Regions from separate parts of the Homo sapiens genome. Here region 1 is linked to region 2. The links are contacts of gene promoters, found by promoter capture Hi-C in human tissues and cell types (Jung and others, 2019). All regions are on one chromosome and are shown on one strand. The core of a region is centred on a gene start or on the middle of the fragment in contact, and the rest is flanking DNA. Distances in the headings are between cores, read along the strand shown.

Evidence for each region. The method cuts DNA at HindIII sites, captures the fragments that hold promoters and counts their contacts. A contact is called where the count stands out against the background at its distance.
Region 1: a contact is called between a fragment that was not itself captured here and the fragment with the promoter of C9orf50 in region 2, in 1 of the 25 tissues and cell types used here (dorsolateral prefrontal cortex).

The regions. Positions count from the first base shown.
Region 1 is chr9:129,445,503-129,451,527 of GRCh38, reverse strand. LOC105376291 (a long non-coding RNA gene) reads right to left here. Exons shown (of 3, transcript NR_188645.1): 3 at 3,977-4,756. Among named protein-coding and RNA genes, the nearest start is that of LINC00963, 40 kb to the left of the region's middle. The HindIII fragment of the contact is 6,251 bases long and covers 1,483-6,025 here.
Region 2 is chr9:129,617,727-129,624,260 of GRCh38, reverse strand. C9orf50 (chromosome 9 open reading frame 50) reads left to right here and starts at 3,160. Exons shown (of 7, transcript NM_199350.4): 1 at 3,160-4,194; 2 at 4,431-4,521; 3 at 4,625-4,741. The coding sequence starts at 3,687. It also overlaps a transcript of NTMT1 not described here. RefSeq lists enhancers at 1-27, 38-177, 3,048-3,698. The HindIII fragment of the contact is 8,954 bases long and covers 1,612-6,534 here.

The DNA of each region.
Region 1 (6,025 bases), core at 3,359-5,858, 170 kb after region 2:
CCAGAGAAAGGGTTTATCTGTTTGTTCCTTGACCTTGAGCAGCCACTGAGGCAGCCAGAAAGAGGAGAGGCAGGAGCTGGGAGGAGAGCGAGGAGCAAAGCTGGGGACCCTGCGCTCTGCCCCGAGGGACCCACCAGCCAGGTGACCGGAAATAAGTCGGAGGGAGGAGGCAGCCGTGCTGTGTGCAGGGCCAGGGCCACGGAGGCCCAGGGGGACGTGAAGCAGCGCCTCTCTGCTGTGGCCCTGCAGGTCCGTGGGCTGTGCTGCCTGCCTTTCCCCATCCCCGGTCCCCCTGGAAACTGAACAAAGAACTGGAAGGAGACGTCAGCCATCCAGGCAGGAGCCGACCCTGCCCAGCCATCCTGGGGCAACTGCGGCTGTCACAGACCCTGCCCCAGTGGAGGGAATAGCCCCAGGCAGTCTGACCTTGTCCACAGCGAGCTTCCACACTAGGGGTGGCGGCACCGGCAGGGGCAGGAGATAGAGAAAGAGACAAAGAAAAGGAACCCTTCTCAAAAAGGCCTCTTCCTCCTTTCTGCTCCTGGTGCGTGACTAAAATGTAACCCAGACATTTATTGAGCACCTTTGTCTGTGGTATCCTTACCCTCAATGGGCCAACCGTCTTTTCTTCAGCTGAATTAGGGGCAGGCTTAAAGTGGGAACTGTTTTATTTTTGCCAAAAGAATCTCATTGTTATTACATAAGTAATGCATGCCTATTGTAGATATTGTAGAAAATATAGATGAATCCAATGAAGAAAATATAACCACTCACTCTTTTTTTTTTTATATTAGAGACGAGGTTTTGCCATGTTAGCCAGGCTGGTCTCGAACTCCTGGCCTCAGGCAATCCACCCGCCTTGGCCTCCCAAAGTGCTGGGATTACAGACATGAGCCATCGCACCCGGCCTAATACAACCACTGTTAATCCCATCCCTTATCGATGACCCTCTTTGGTTGGCCCCCTTTGGTATTTGGAGGGGTTGGGTCTCCTCCTGGTCCTCTGTATCTGACATTTGCTTCGAGCCTTGCACACAGTGGACATGGAAGATGACTTTATGGCTGATCACTTATCTGTGTATTCATTCTTCACTAACCCAAGGAGTATTCACTGAACCCTCAGGAGGTAACCATTTAGTGGTGTTTTAAATTCTTTGGGAGGGGACTGGGCACATTGGCTCACATCTGTAATTCCAACACTTTGGGAGACTGAGGCGGGTGGATCACTTGAGCCCAGGAGTTCGAAACCAACCTGGAAAACAAGGCGAGAACTTGTCTCTACTAAAAATACAAAAATAATTAGCTGGGCGTGGTGTTGTGTGCCTGTAGTCACAGCTACTCAAGAGGCTGAGGTGGGAGGATTGCCTGAGCTTGGGAAGTCGAGGCTGCAGTGAGCTGAGATTGTGCCATTGGCCTCCTGCCTGGGTGACAGAGTGAGACCCTATCTCAAAAAAAAAAAGAAAAAAAAATGGCCAGATTCGGTGGCTCATGCCTGTAATCCCAGTACTTTGGTAGGCCGAGGTGGGCGGATCATGAGGTCAGGAGTTCGAGACCATCCTGGCCAACATGGTGAAATCCTGTCTCTACTAAAAATACAGAAATTAGCCGGATGTGTTGGCGTGCGCCTGTAATCCCAGCTACCCAGGAGGCTGAGGTAGGAGAATCGTTTGAACTCGGGAGGCGGAGGTTGGAGTGAGCTGAGATGGCACCACTGCACTCCAGCCTGGGTGACAGAACAAGACTCCATCTCAAGAAAAAAAAAAAGTGATAAAATAAGCATAAATAACTTATTTGGGAGTGGAGAGAGATGTGTGGAAACCCAGACTGGTGCCCGTGTAACCCAAATAAAAGCTGGGCTTCCATGTAGTTCAGTCGCTGCCTCCTGGGACCTGATAATCCAGCAGTCACAAGTCATTTAAACGAACTTTCTGAATGTCCTTGTGACTCCCGAAGAGCCTCAAAGGGGCCGAATTCAAACCCCACAGCAACAGCTCTCACCAGCGCCCGTTTCCTTGCTCCGGTTCTCTCCATTAGACTGGCTGTTGTTTTGCGCATGCTGGAGGCTGCCTGACAGTCCTGACACCAGCCTGCATTCTCCCCTTCTCCCTCGAATATTTGTTATGTAATGTGTTCAGTGGGCAGACCCTTCCCCGCCCGTCCTCATGATCCATGCCCCTCTGGTGAGTGGTTCAGAGCCCACGCTCTGGAGCGAGACCCTCTGGGTCCAAATCCTGGCCCCGCGAGTCACACGCTGTGACTTGACCCCGCGCTACCCAAGGCGCGGTCCGAGGATCAGTGCTGGGCCACACACTGTTTGTGGACACGACACGCTAACTATAGAACTGAGGATAAGCATTTAGCAACTTTCATAGCAATTTGACACTGCCTACATCCCATTGTGACTGTGTATATTATAAAAATATCATTCCTGACAGATTGGAACATTTTTTCTCGAAGTTCCTTCATCACAGATAGTTTGGGAAGCACGGATTCAGCCTACTGTGTGCCTCAGTTTTCTCACTAGTGAAATGGGAATAATGATGGTCTGTAACCTCACCACATCCCTGAGAAAGTGTAAAGGAGTAAAATTAGGGAGGGCTCTGAGGCTGGGGGCTGGGCATTGCAATCGCTCAGTAAATGTCAGTGTCACTATCATTTTGACACATTCTCCAGATTCTGCATTACAAACACCAGATTCTCCTCTGAGGGCAGAGGAGGAATTGTTGGGGAGAGAGTGGACCCCATTCAGTGTATCCTACCCCACCCCAAGTTCCTATAGCTTTTAGCCAATCCTTGAGATTGGAACACCTCTATCACTGCATCCAAAACCTTTCAGGTTTCCAAAGGAACTACTGGGTAGTTTATTCATCCACTTAACAAATATCTAGGGCCAGCACCATGGCTCACGCCTGCAATCCCAGCATTTGGGAGGCTGAGGTGGGCAGGTCGATTAAGCCTAGCAGTTTGAGACCAGCCTAGGCAAGATGGCAAAAGCTCATTACTACAAAAAAAAAAAAAATGCAAAAATGGCTGGGCACGGTGGCTCACGCCTGTAATCCCAGCACTTTGGGATGCTGAGGAGGGCAAATCACCTGAGGTCAGAAGTTCGAGACCAGCCTGACCAATATGGAGAAACTCTGTCTCTACTAAAAATACAAAATTAGCTGAGTGTGGTGGTGCATGCCTGTAATCCCAGCTACTCAGGAGGCTGAGACAGGAGAATAGCTTAAACCCCGGAGGCAAAGTTTGCAGTGAGCTGAGATTGTGCCTTTGCACTCCAGCCTGGGCGACAGAGCGAGACTCCGTCTCAAAAAAAAAAAAAAAAAAAAAAAGCAAAAATTAGCCGGATGTGGTAGCGTGCACCTGTGGTCCCAGCTACTCGGGAGGCTGAGGTAGGAGGATCACCTGAGCCCAGGGAGGTCGAGGCTGCAGTGAGCCATGATTGTGCCGCTGCACTCCAGCCTGGATGACAGAGAGAGACCCTGTCTCAAAATAAAATTAAAAAATAAAATAAAACCAAATATCTATAGCCCACGTACAGGGTGAGAGCTGGAGAGTCTAGTGGTTAGGAACTTTGGAGCAAGATGGCCCTGGGGTCCAGTCTTGGCCCTGCCACTTACTACCTGAGTGGCCTTGGGCAACTCACTTAACCTCTCTGAGCCACAGTGTTCCCAGAAGAGAGTCAGGAGGAGTCCTAAGCTCGGGACTCAGTTCAAAGCTGAGATTTGGCCTTCAATGTGCACATACCTGCAGAAAGCCTGGCCACCCCAGACACTCACTACATCCAGGCTTGGATTTACAGGCTGTGGTGACCTCCCAGGTTCCCTACCCTCAATGAGTTCCTGTGGATTAAGAAGGAACGGGTGGTGCCTTGACATATCAAACTTGTCAGGTGTTACTTCTAGAAAAATAAATGAATTTAAGGGCTTTGAATATTTGAGAATGGAGAGATTTAAAAATGTAAAGGTTTCTTAAGATGGATAGAAGACTTACCAATTGGATTTGTATTCTGTGGAACAGGGAGGCTTGTGTGAGGCCTCTCTCTAGAAAACGCAGCTCTGTTTAAAGGGAAAAGTGCAGGCAGGCTGGCCAACCCACGTGATGGCTCTTGAAGCTTCTCTTTTGAATGGCCTGCTAGGACTTGGGCTCCGGATTCACTGGCTAACGCAAGTCACGTGGCCAAACATGATTTGGTGGGGAGGGGAAGTGTACCCAGCACTGGATGCTCTGCATGTCACGTAGCAATGGGGCAGGATGGATAATCCTCTCACTGAGGGGATGGTGAATAACTGGAAACAGTGACCAATCTGCTGCCGTTCACCATCTTGGTTGCAAATATCACTCCCGTCTCTTGCATGGGCGTGGTGGATTGGAGATGGCTGCAGATTCTTAGTCATTACTCTCAGCAAGACCTGGAGTCTTTTCCTCCTCCCCTTGGATCTGGGCTGACTCCAGGACTGGCTTTCATCAACAGGATGCAGCAGAAGCGACGCTGTGTGACTTCCGAGGCTGAGGCTGCAGAGATTTGAGGCATCTGCTCTCACCCAGCTTGAAGTGCTTCCTCTTGGAAGCCAGCCACCGTGAAAAACCCCGCCATGCTGTGAGGAAGCCCAAGAGAGCTGCATGGAGAGAAGGGCCTGTGGAAGAGCCCTGAGGTGCCACTCACATGAAGTGAACCTTTGTGGACCTTCCAGCCCAGCTACCAGCAAAACGCAAGCAGCGAGTGTCCCCAGTCAACGCTTCTCTCTATAGGAGACCTGTAAATGGGGTGGCGGGGGGAGCAGGAGGAATTTTCTGATCTCACACACTGTTATGAGTTGAATTGTCTCCCCACCCAAATTCATATGTTGAAGCCCCCACCTTCAGTACTTTACAAAGTAATGTATTTGGAGATAATATCTTTTTTTTTTTTTTTTTTTGAGACAGAGTCTCACTCTGTCGTTGCTCAGGCTGGAGTGCGGTGATGCGATCTCAGCTTGCTGCAACCTCTGTTTCCCGGGTTCAAGAGATTCTTGTGCCTCAGCCTCCCGAGTAGCTGGGATGAGAGGCGTGGTGTTGCATGCTAATTTTTTAGCTTGGACTACTATTTTTGTATTTTAGTAGAGACCGGGTTTCACCATGTTGGCCAGGTTGGTCTTGAACTTCTGACCTCAAATGATCTTCAAATTTTTTGTAATTTTTTAGCGTGGGCTAGTTTTTTTGTATTTTTAGTGGAGAGGGGGTTTCACCATGTTGGCCAGGCTGGTCTGGAACTTCTGACCTCAAAGGATCTGCCTTCCTTGGCCTCCCAAAGTGCTGGGATTACAGGCGTGGGCCACTGTGCCTGGCTGGAGATAAAATCTTTAAAGTGGCAATTCAATTAAAATGAAGTCGTCAGGGTGGGCCTTAATCCAATGTGTCTAGTGTCCTTATAAGAAGGAAATGTGGACTCACAGACTGAGGCGTCAGGCAGGTGTGCACAGGCAGGAGGCCACCTGAGGACACAGGCGAGCCAGGGAGGGAGGGCCTTGGAAGAAACCAGCCCTGCTGGCACCTTGATCTTGGACTTCCAGCCCCCAAAGCTGTGAGAAAATACATTTTTATTATTCAAGACACCCAGTATGTGGTATCTCGTTATGGTGGCCCCGGCAAAGTAATACACTCAACATACAATGGTGGAATAGGATGACCCACAAACGCTCTCCGTTGGAAAGGAGAAGAACAAGACTGGGCGCAATGGCTCACGCCTGTAGTCCCAGCACTTTGGGAGGCTGAGGTGGGCGGATCACTTGAGGCCAGGAGTTCAAGACCAGCCTGGACAACATGGCGAAACCCATCTCTACTAAAAATACAAAAATTAGCCAGGCATGGTTGCATGCACCTGTAATCCCAGCTACTTGGGAGGCTGAGGCATGAGAATTGCTTGAACTCAGGAAGTGGAGGCTGCAGTGAGCCAAGATTGCACCACTGCACTCCAGCCTGGGTGATACAGTGAGAGCAAAGAAAAAAGAAAGAAAGAGAGAGAGAGAGAAAAGAGAAAGGAAGGA
Region 2 (6,534 bases), core at 1,911-4,410:
CAAGCCCCTTCCCCACAGCCACGCTCCAAGGCCTTCCCAGGACTGGCCGGCTCCCTGACCTCAAAGCCTCTGGCATCTCTGAATTCCCAAGCCTAGCACATAGTAGTTCCTTGATAAATATTTGCAGAGTGCAAGGGCTGGAGGGCTCCTTAGAAACCATCTAGTTAGGCCAGGCGCAGTGGCTCACGCCTGTAATCTCAGCACTTTGGGAGGCCGAGGCAGGTGGATCACAAGGGCAGGAGATCGAGACCATCCTGGCTAACACGGTGAAACCCCGTCTCTACTAAAAATACAAAAAAATTAGCCGGGCGTGGTGGTGGGCACCTGTAATCCCAGCTACTCGGGAGGCTGAGGCAGGAGAATGGGGTGAACCCAGGATGCGGAGCTTGCAGTGAGCTGAGATCGCGACTCCGTCTCCAAAAAAAAAAAAAAGAAAAGAAAAGAAAAAAAGAAACCGTCTAGTTAATCTGGTGTTTCGCAGCCATTAAAAAAGACACATACCCTTTAAATAAATACAAAAATATCTCCCTCCCCCACTCAATATTGTAGCTCTCCAGGAAAGTATGTCCCTCCATCCCTGGTGAGAAGCATTGACAGAAAATAGAATATATCTTTGGCGACGCGTTCTCTAGTGAGTCACTCTGTTATTTGAATTACAAAGTCGTTTCTTCATTTTCAAATTATGAAACTATGCCACGCCAGTGAAATACTCATGTAAATGACCTCTGTCTCCCACCCCAGCTTCACAATACTATGAGCTTCCTCTCGGCCCTCTCCCAGCCAAGACTCAGAGATAAGGCCCAGGGAGTCCTGAGAAAGAAGACACTTCTCCAGGATCACACAGCAAAACAGCAGACCATGGACTTGAAAGTGGGTCTGTTAATTTCTTTTCTTCCTTCCTTCCTTCCTTCCTTCTTTTTTTTTTTTTGAGATGGAATCTTGCTCTGTCGCCCAGGCTGGAGTGCAGTGGCGCGATCTCCGCTCACTGCAAGCTCCGCCTCCTGGGTTCACGCCATTCTCCTGCCTCAGCCTCCCGCGTAGCTGGGATTACAGGTACCCGTCACCACAACCAGCTAATTTTTTGTATTTTTAGTAGAGACAGGGTTTCACCGTGTTAGCCAGGATGGTCTCGATCTCCTGACCTCATGATCCACCCGCCTTGTCCTCTCAAAGTGCTGGGATTACAGGCGTGAGCCACCGTGCCCGGCTCTTTCTTTCTTTTTTTTTTTATGGAGATGGAGTCTCACTCTGTTGCCCAGGCTGGAGTGCAGTGGCGTGATCTCGGCTCACTGCAACCTCCGCCTCCCGGGTTCAAGCAATTCTCCTACCTCAGCCCCCCAAGTAGCTGGGACTACAGGCACACGCTGTCACGCCCGGCTAATTTTTTTGTATTTTAGTAGAGACGGGGTTTCACCATGTGGCCCAGGCTGATTGCGAACTCCTGAGCTCAGGCAATCCACCTGCCTCGGTCTCCCAAAGTGTTAGGATTACAGGTATGAGCCACTGGAACCTGGCCTCTTTTTTTTTTGTGAGACAGAGTCTCAAATGATCTGTGTAACGGATTAGAGTTGGAGATGTCAGCATGAGCTCATGTTTAGCTTAATATAAGTACAGATGGTTACCTATAGAAATATTTATAGATATGTGTGTGTTTCATAGTATACACACACATTTCTTTGTCAGCTGAGACTGCCTGAAAGAAATGACATCTCAATAGCAAGAAGCACACCTAGCACCCAGACCTTGGATTATTATTATTATTATTTTTGAGATGGAGTCTCGCTTTGTCACCCAGGCTGGAGTGCAGTGGCATGATCTCAGCTCACTGCAACCTCCGCCTCCCAGGGTCAAGCGATTCTCCTGTCTCAGCCTCCCAAGTAGCTGGGATTATAGGTGCACAACACCATGCATGGCAAATTTTGGTATTTTTTGTAGAGACGAGGTTTCACCATGTTGGCCAGGCTGGTATTGAACTTCTGACCTCAGGTGATCCGCCCGCCTCGGCCTCCCAAAGTGCTGGGATTACAGGCGTGAGACACCGTGCCCCGCAGGGTCTGTTCATTTCTAGGTCCATTGTATTCTGACTGCCTGGTCTTGGGGTGGAAGTTCTACTTCCAGAGCCACCCAGCCTAAGCCTCCCAGATCTGGAAAGGGTAGGCCTGGCTGCCCTGGTCAGAGTCCCAGTGCCCCAGGTGGCTGCGGCCAGGGCATCCAGGGCACAATAGCCCCACCCTTAGTCCCCAGGCCTCAGTGCCCACTGCTACTCAGATGCCCAGGGGTGAGGGGCGGATCACAATGACCCTGAAGCGGCCCAGAGGCAGCCGGGAGGGGCTGGGAGAGGCACCAGGCAGGGATGATGGGCTCTACAGCCTGCCTGTAGAGAGCTCTAAACTCACAGGACCTTCTAGGGCCCCACCCAGAAGCCCACCAGGGTGAGTGTGACACTGCCCAGGAGTCAGCTCAGAGCTGACAACAATCTGGGAGTGGGGTGTGGTTGGGAGGAAGCAGGCTTAGAAACCCCTCAGTGTCAGAGCTGGGAGTAAGACTGGGGCTCTGCCTCCCAAAGGGGGAGTTTGTTAAAAGTCTGTGTCTTGGCCAGAAGTGGGGACTCACGCCTGTGATCCCAGCACTTTGGGAGGCCAAGGCAAGTGGATCACTTGAGCCCAGGAGTTCAAGACCAGCCCGTGCAACATAAATACAAAAAAATTCTACCCCATTTCTACAAAATATACAAAAATTAGCCAACTGTGGTGGTGTGTGCCTGTAGTCCCAGCTACTCAGGAGGCTGAGGCAGGAGGATCACTTGAGCCCAAGAATTTGAGGCTGCAGTGAGCTATGATGGTGCCATTGCACTCCAGCCTGGGTGACAGCAGGACCCCGTCTTAGCAAGACCCCATCTCTTTAACAACAACAACAAGAACAACAAACTGTCTTGGCTCCAGCAGAGACGTACTGAATCAGAATGGGGGCTGGGGGTAAGTCATCTGTATTTTCAACAGGCTCCCCACCCAGGGGTCTCTGAGGCAGCACCAGGGCTGGGAGGCTGCTGGTCAGGTCTCTCTTCCCTCAAGCTGGTTCCAGGTTTCCTAATTCCCAGTAGAGCGCTAATGACGGTAACAGTTCCACGCTTTGAACACTGCAAGGCAGGCTAAGTGCTCTCTCTACCAGCGGTGATGCGGTGATGCCGTTTCACGGCTGCAGAGAGGCAGGTGCTGCTATTATCCCCATTCTGCAGACCAGAGCCCCCAGGGAAGGCAGAGGGAAGTTAATTGGCTTGGCCAAGGTTACAAAGCTAATAAGTGGTGGAGCTGGGACTAAATCCTAAATAATAATAACTTTGAAATACTAAGAATGGCAGCTAGTCTATGTGTAAGCTTGGCCAGCGTGCCTGGCACTGTACCGAGCTTGCTGTTCTAAGACTGGCATGTACTTGCTCATTTAAACGTCACAGCAACCCCCAAAGTTGGCTACTCTTGCTGTCACCATTTTTCAGGTGAGGAAACAGAGGCTCTGGGAGCTCTCGCCTGAAGCCACTCGCTGTCCGCCGGGCCGGTGGCGTTCACCCCGCACCGCGCTGCCCCGCCCGGGGCACTATGGCCTGGGGCTGGACTATGCCCTCCCCACCTCAGCCGGCGCCCCCCACCCACGCGCGCTGAGGGTGCGGTGAGCTGAGTGCGGGGCCAAGCATGTTCTGGCGTCGACTTCGCCCAGGGGCCCAGGACCTGGCGCCCAAGGGGCTCCCTGGCGACGGAGACTTCCGACGCAGCAGCGACCCGCGGCTGCCCAAGCTGACCCCGCCCGCGCTCCGAGCGGCTCTGGGCGCGCGGGGCTCCGGGGACTGGAGGATCCCGGGGGGCGGCGCCGCGTGGTGGCCGGAAGGGGACGCCAAGCCCGGGGTGGGCGTCGGACGCCTCCCGCCGCGCCTGCCCGCCTTGCTCACCGCGACCCGGCGGGCCGTGCGGAAGCGGGGGCTGCTGCGGTCCCTGCTGCCGCCTCCCCTGCTGTCGGCCGGCGCGTCCCGGGAATCGGCGCCCAGGCAGCCAGGGCCTGGAGAGCGCGAGCGCCCCCGGAGGCGCGTGGCCAGGGAGGACCCCGACTTCTTGGGCGCCTTCCTAGGAGAGCTCCTCCCCAGCAGGTTCCGTGAGTTCCTGCACCAGCTCCAGGAGAAGTGCGCCGAGGAGCCGGAGCCACTGAGTGAGGCCCCGCGGGGCCCGGGGGGCGGGCCCGAGTCATTTCCGGTGGGGGGTGGTCCCTTGTGTCCCCGCACCCACCACCCCACCACCCAGGCTAGAAGGATGCTAATGTTAGCTGAGTATCTCAGAGCCCTCGCAACCCGTCCTTGAGGGCTGGTCTGCCATCACCCCGAGGCCACATGACTAGAAAGGACCGTCCCCCAGCCAAGGCTCACAACTGTTTCCTCCTGGCTCCAGCATCCCCAGCACCGCAACATCAAAGGGGTGTATTAGAGCACTGCCCAGGGTCTCCGCGGTGTCCCAACTGTTCATTCCTCCCAGACCTGTGGTAAGCGTCAGTCCGCTTCTTGGTGGGGACGGGGTTGCCATCGATGTTTCCAGGGCGGGACAGCCTGGCCACTCATGCCAGATGTGGCCTGTTTGTCTTTAAGGGGCCAGTCATCGCACCTCCAGGATAGTCTTACGAAGATTTCGCTCCAGCAGACACCTATTCTGGGGCCCCTGAAGGGTGATCACTCACAATTCACCACTGTCAGAAAGGCCAACCAGTGAGTGATGGGCGGGATAAGGGTAGGGTAGTGGAGGAAAGGGGCATTTCTTTCCTTCTTTCTTTCCTCTTTCGCCCATGAATGTATTCATTTATCCACCTATCTACCCATTCATCCATCCTTACATATGGCTGTCCGTGAATCAGATCTTCTACCAACCCATTCAAGATTCATTCGCCAGTTCATCAATGAATCAACCCATCCATTAATGAGGTCTTCTACCAACACATAATTCATCCATGAATCTATTCATATATTCATTTTCCCATTCACCCATCCATCTTTGCATCCATCTCATCCATGAACCAAGTCTTCTACAACCCGTTCATGAATCTCTCCATCTATCCATCCATCCTTCTGTCCACCCATTAATCTATCATGGACCCATGACTCCATCCATCCATACATTCACTCACCCACCCACCCATGAATCAGGTGTCCTGTGGATCCATTCATCTACCTGGCCAACCAGCTAGCCAGTCATCCATCTAAAACTCCCACACTTCGGCAGGGCACGGTGGCTCACACCTGTAATCCCAGCACTTTGGGAGGCTGAGGTGGGCGGATCACGAGGTTAGGAGATTGAGACCACCCTGGATAACACGGTGAAACCCCGTCTCTACTAAAAATATACAAAAAAAAAAAAAAAAACACAAAAAATTAGCCGGGCGTGGTGGCGGGCGCCTGTAGTCCCAGCTACTCGGGAGGCTGAGGCGAGAGAATGGTGTGAACCCGGGAGGCGGAGCTTGCAGTGAGCTGAGATTGTGCCATTGCACTCCAGCCTGGGTGACAGAGTGAGACTCCATCTCAAATAAAAATGAAATAAAATAAAATAAAATAAATAAAAAATAAAACTCCCACACTTCTATCCATCCATCCATTGATCCAATGACCAACCATCTACAAATCCTTCCATCCACTTGTAAACCCAGGACACTGTCCATCGCTAATCTAGTCATAAAGCCATCCACAAACCTACATACCCATCTACATAATCATCCAGCCACGCATCTGTCCATCTACCCATACATTCATAGTTCAGTTCTATTCAGACCCTTTCATTAACTCACCCATCAGTCCATCCACCCATCAACCCACCCACCCAGTCTTCCATCATTTTACCCATCCCACCATCATTTGTCCATTTCTTACTCTAACTTTTATTAGGTTTTACTATATGTTGAATATTGGGAGAAAACTAAGGGATGGAGGTAAGAGAAGAGCCTAGGAATTGGAACCTACCTGGGCCTAGACACCATAGTTTTAACAGAGGAGGAAAAGAAGACAGAAACAGTTCCTCCAGGTTAAAATTCCTCCAGGCTTAAGCAGGGGTGAAGGGTGAATGGCACTGCCCATGAGTTTAAAGACCAGGGAGAGTAAATACATCACAAACATATCATTCTTCCTCATCTCATACCCACAGCAGACAAAACTAATGGATCATATTTCCCCACTGAGCCTCAGAACCATTCCTCACACAGTACTCTAGGTAGATACTCCTGATGGATCAGGGTAGGAACTAGAAATGGAACACATGGCCAAGCATGGTGGCTCATGCCTATAATCCCAGTGCTTTGGGAGGCTGAGGCAGGAGGATCGCTTGAGCCCAGGAGTTTGAGACCAGCCTTGGTAACATGGTGAAACCCTGTCTCTACAAAAATTACAAAAATTAGCTGGGCGTGGTGGTGCATGCCTGTGGTTCCAGCTACTCGGGAGGCTGAGGTGGGAGGATTGCTTGAGCCTGGGAGGTTGAGGCTGCAGTGAGCCAAGATCGTGCCACTGCACTCCAGCCT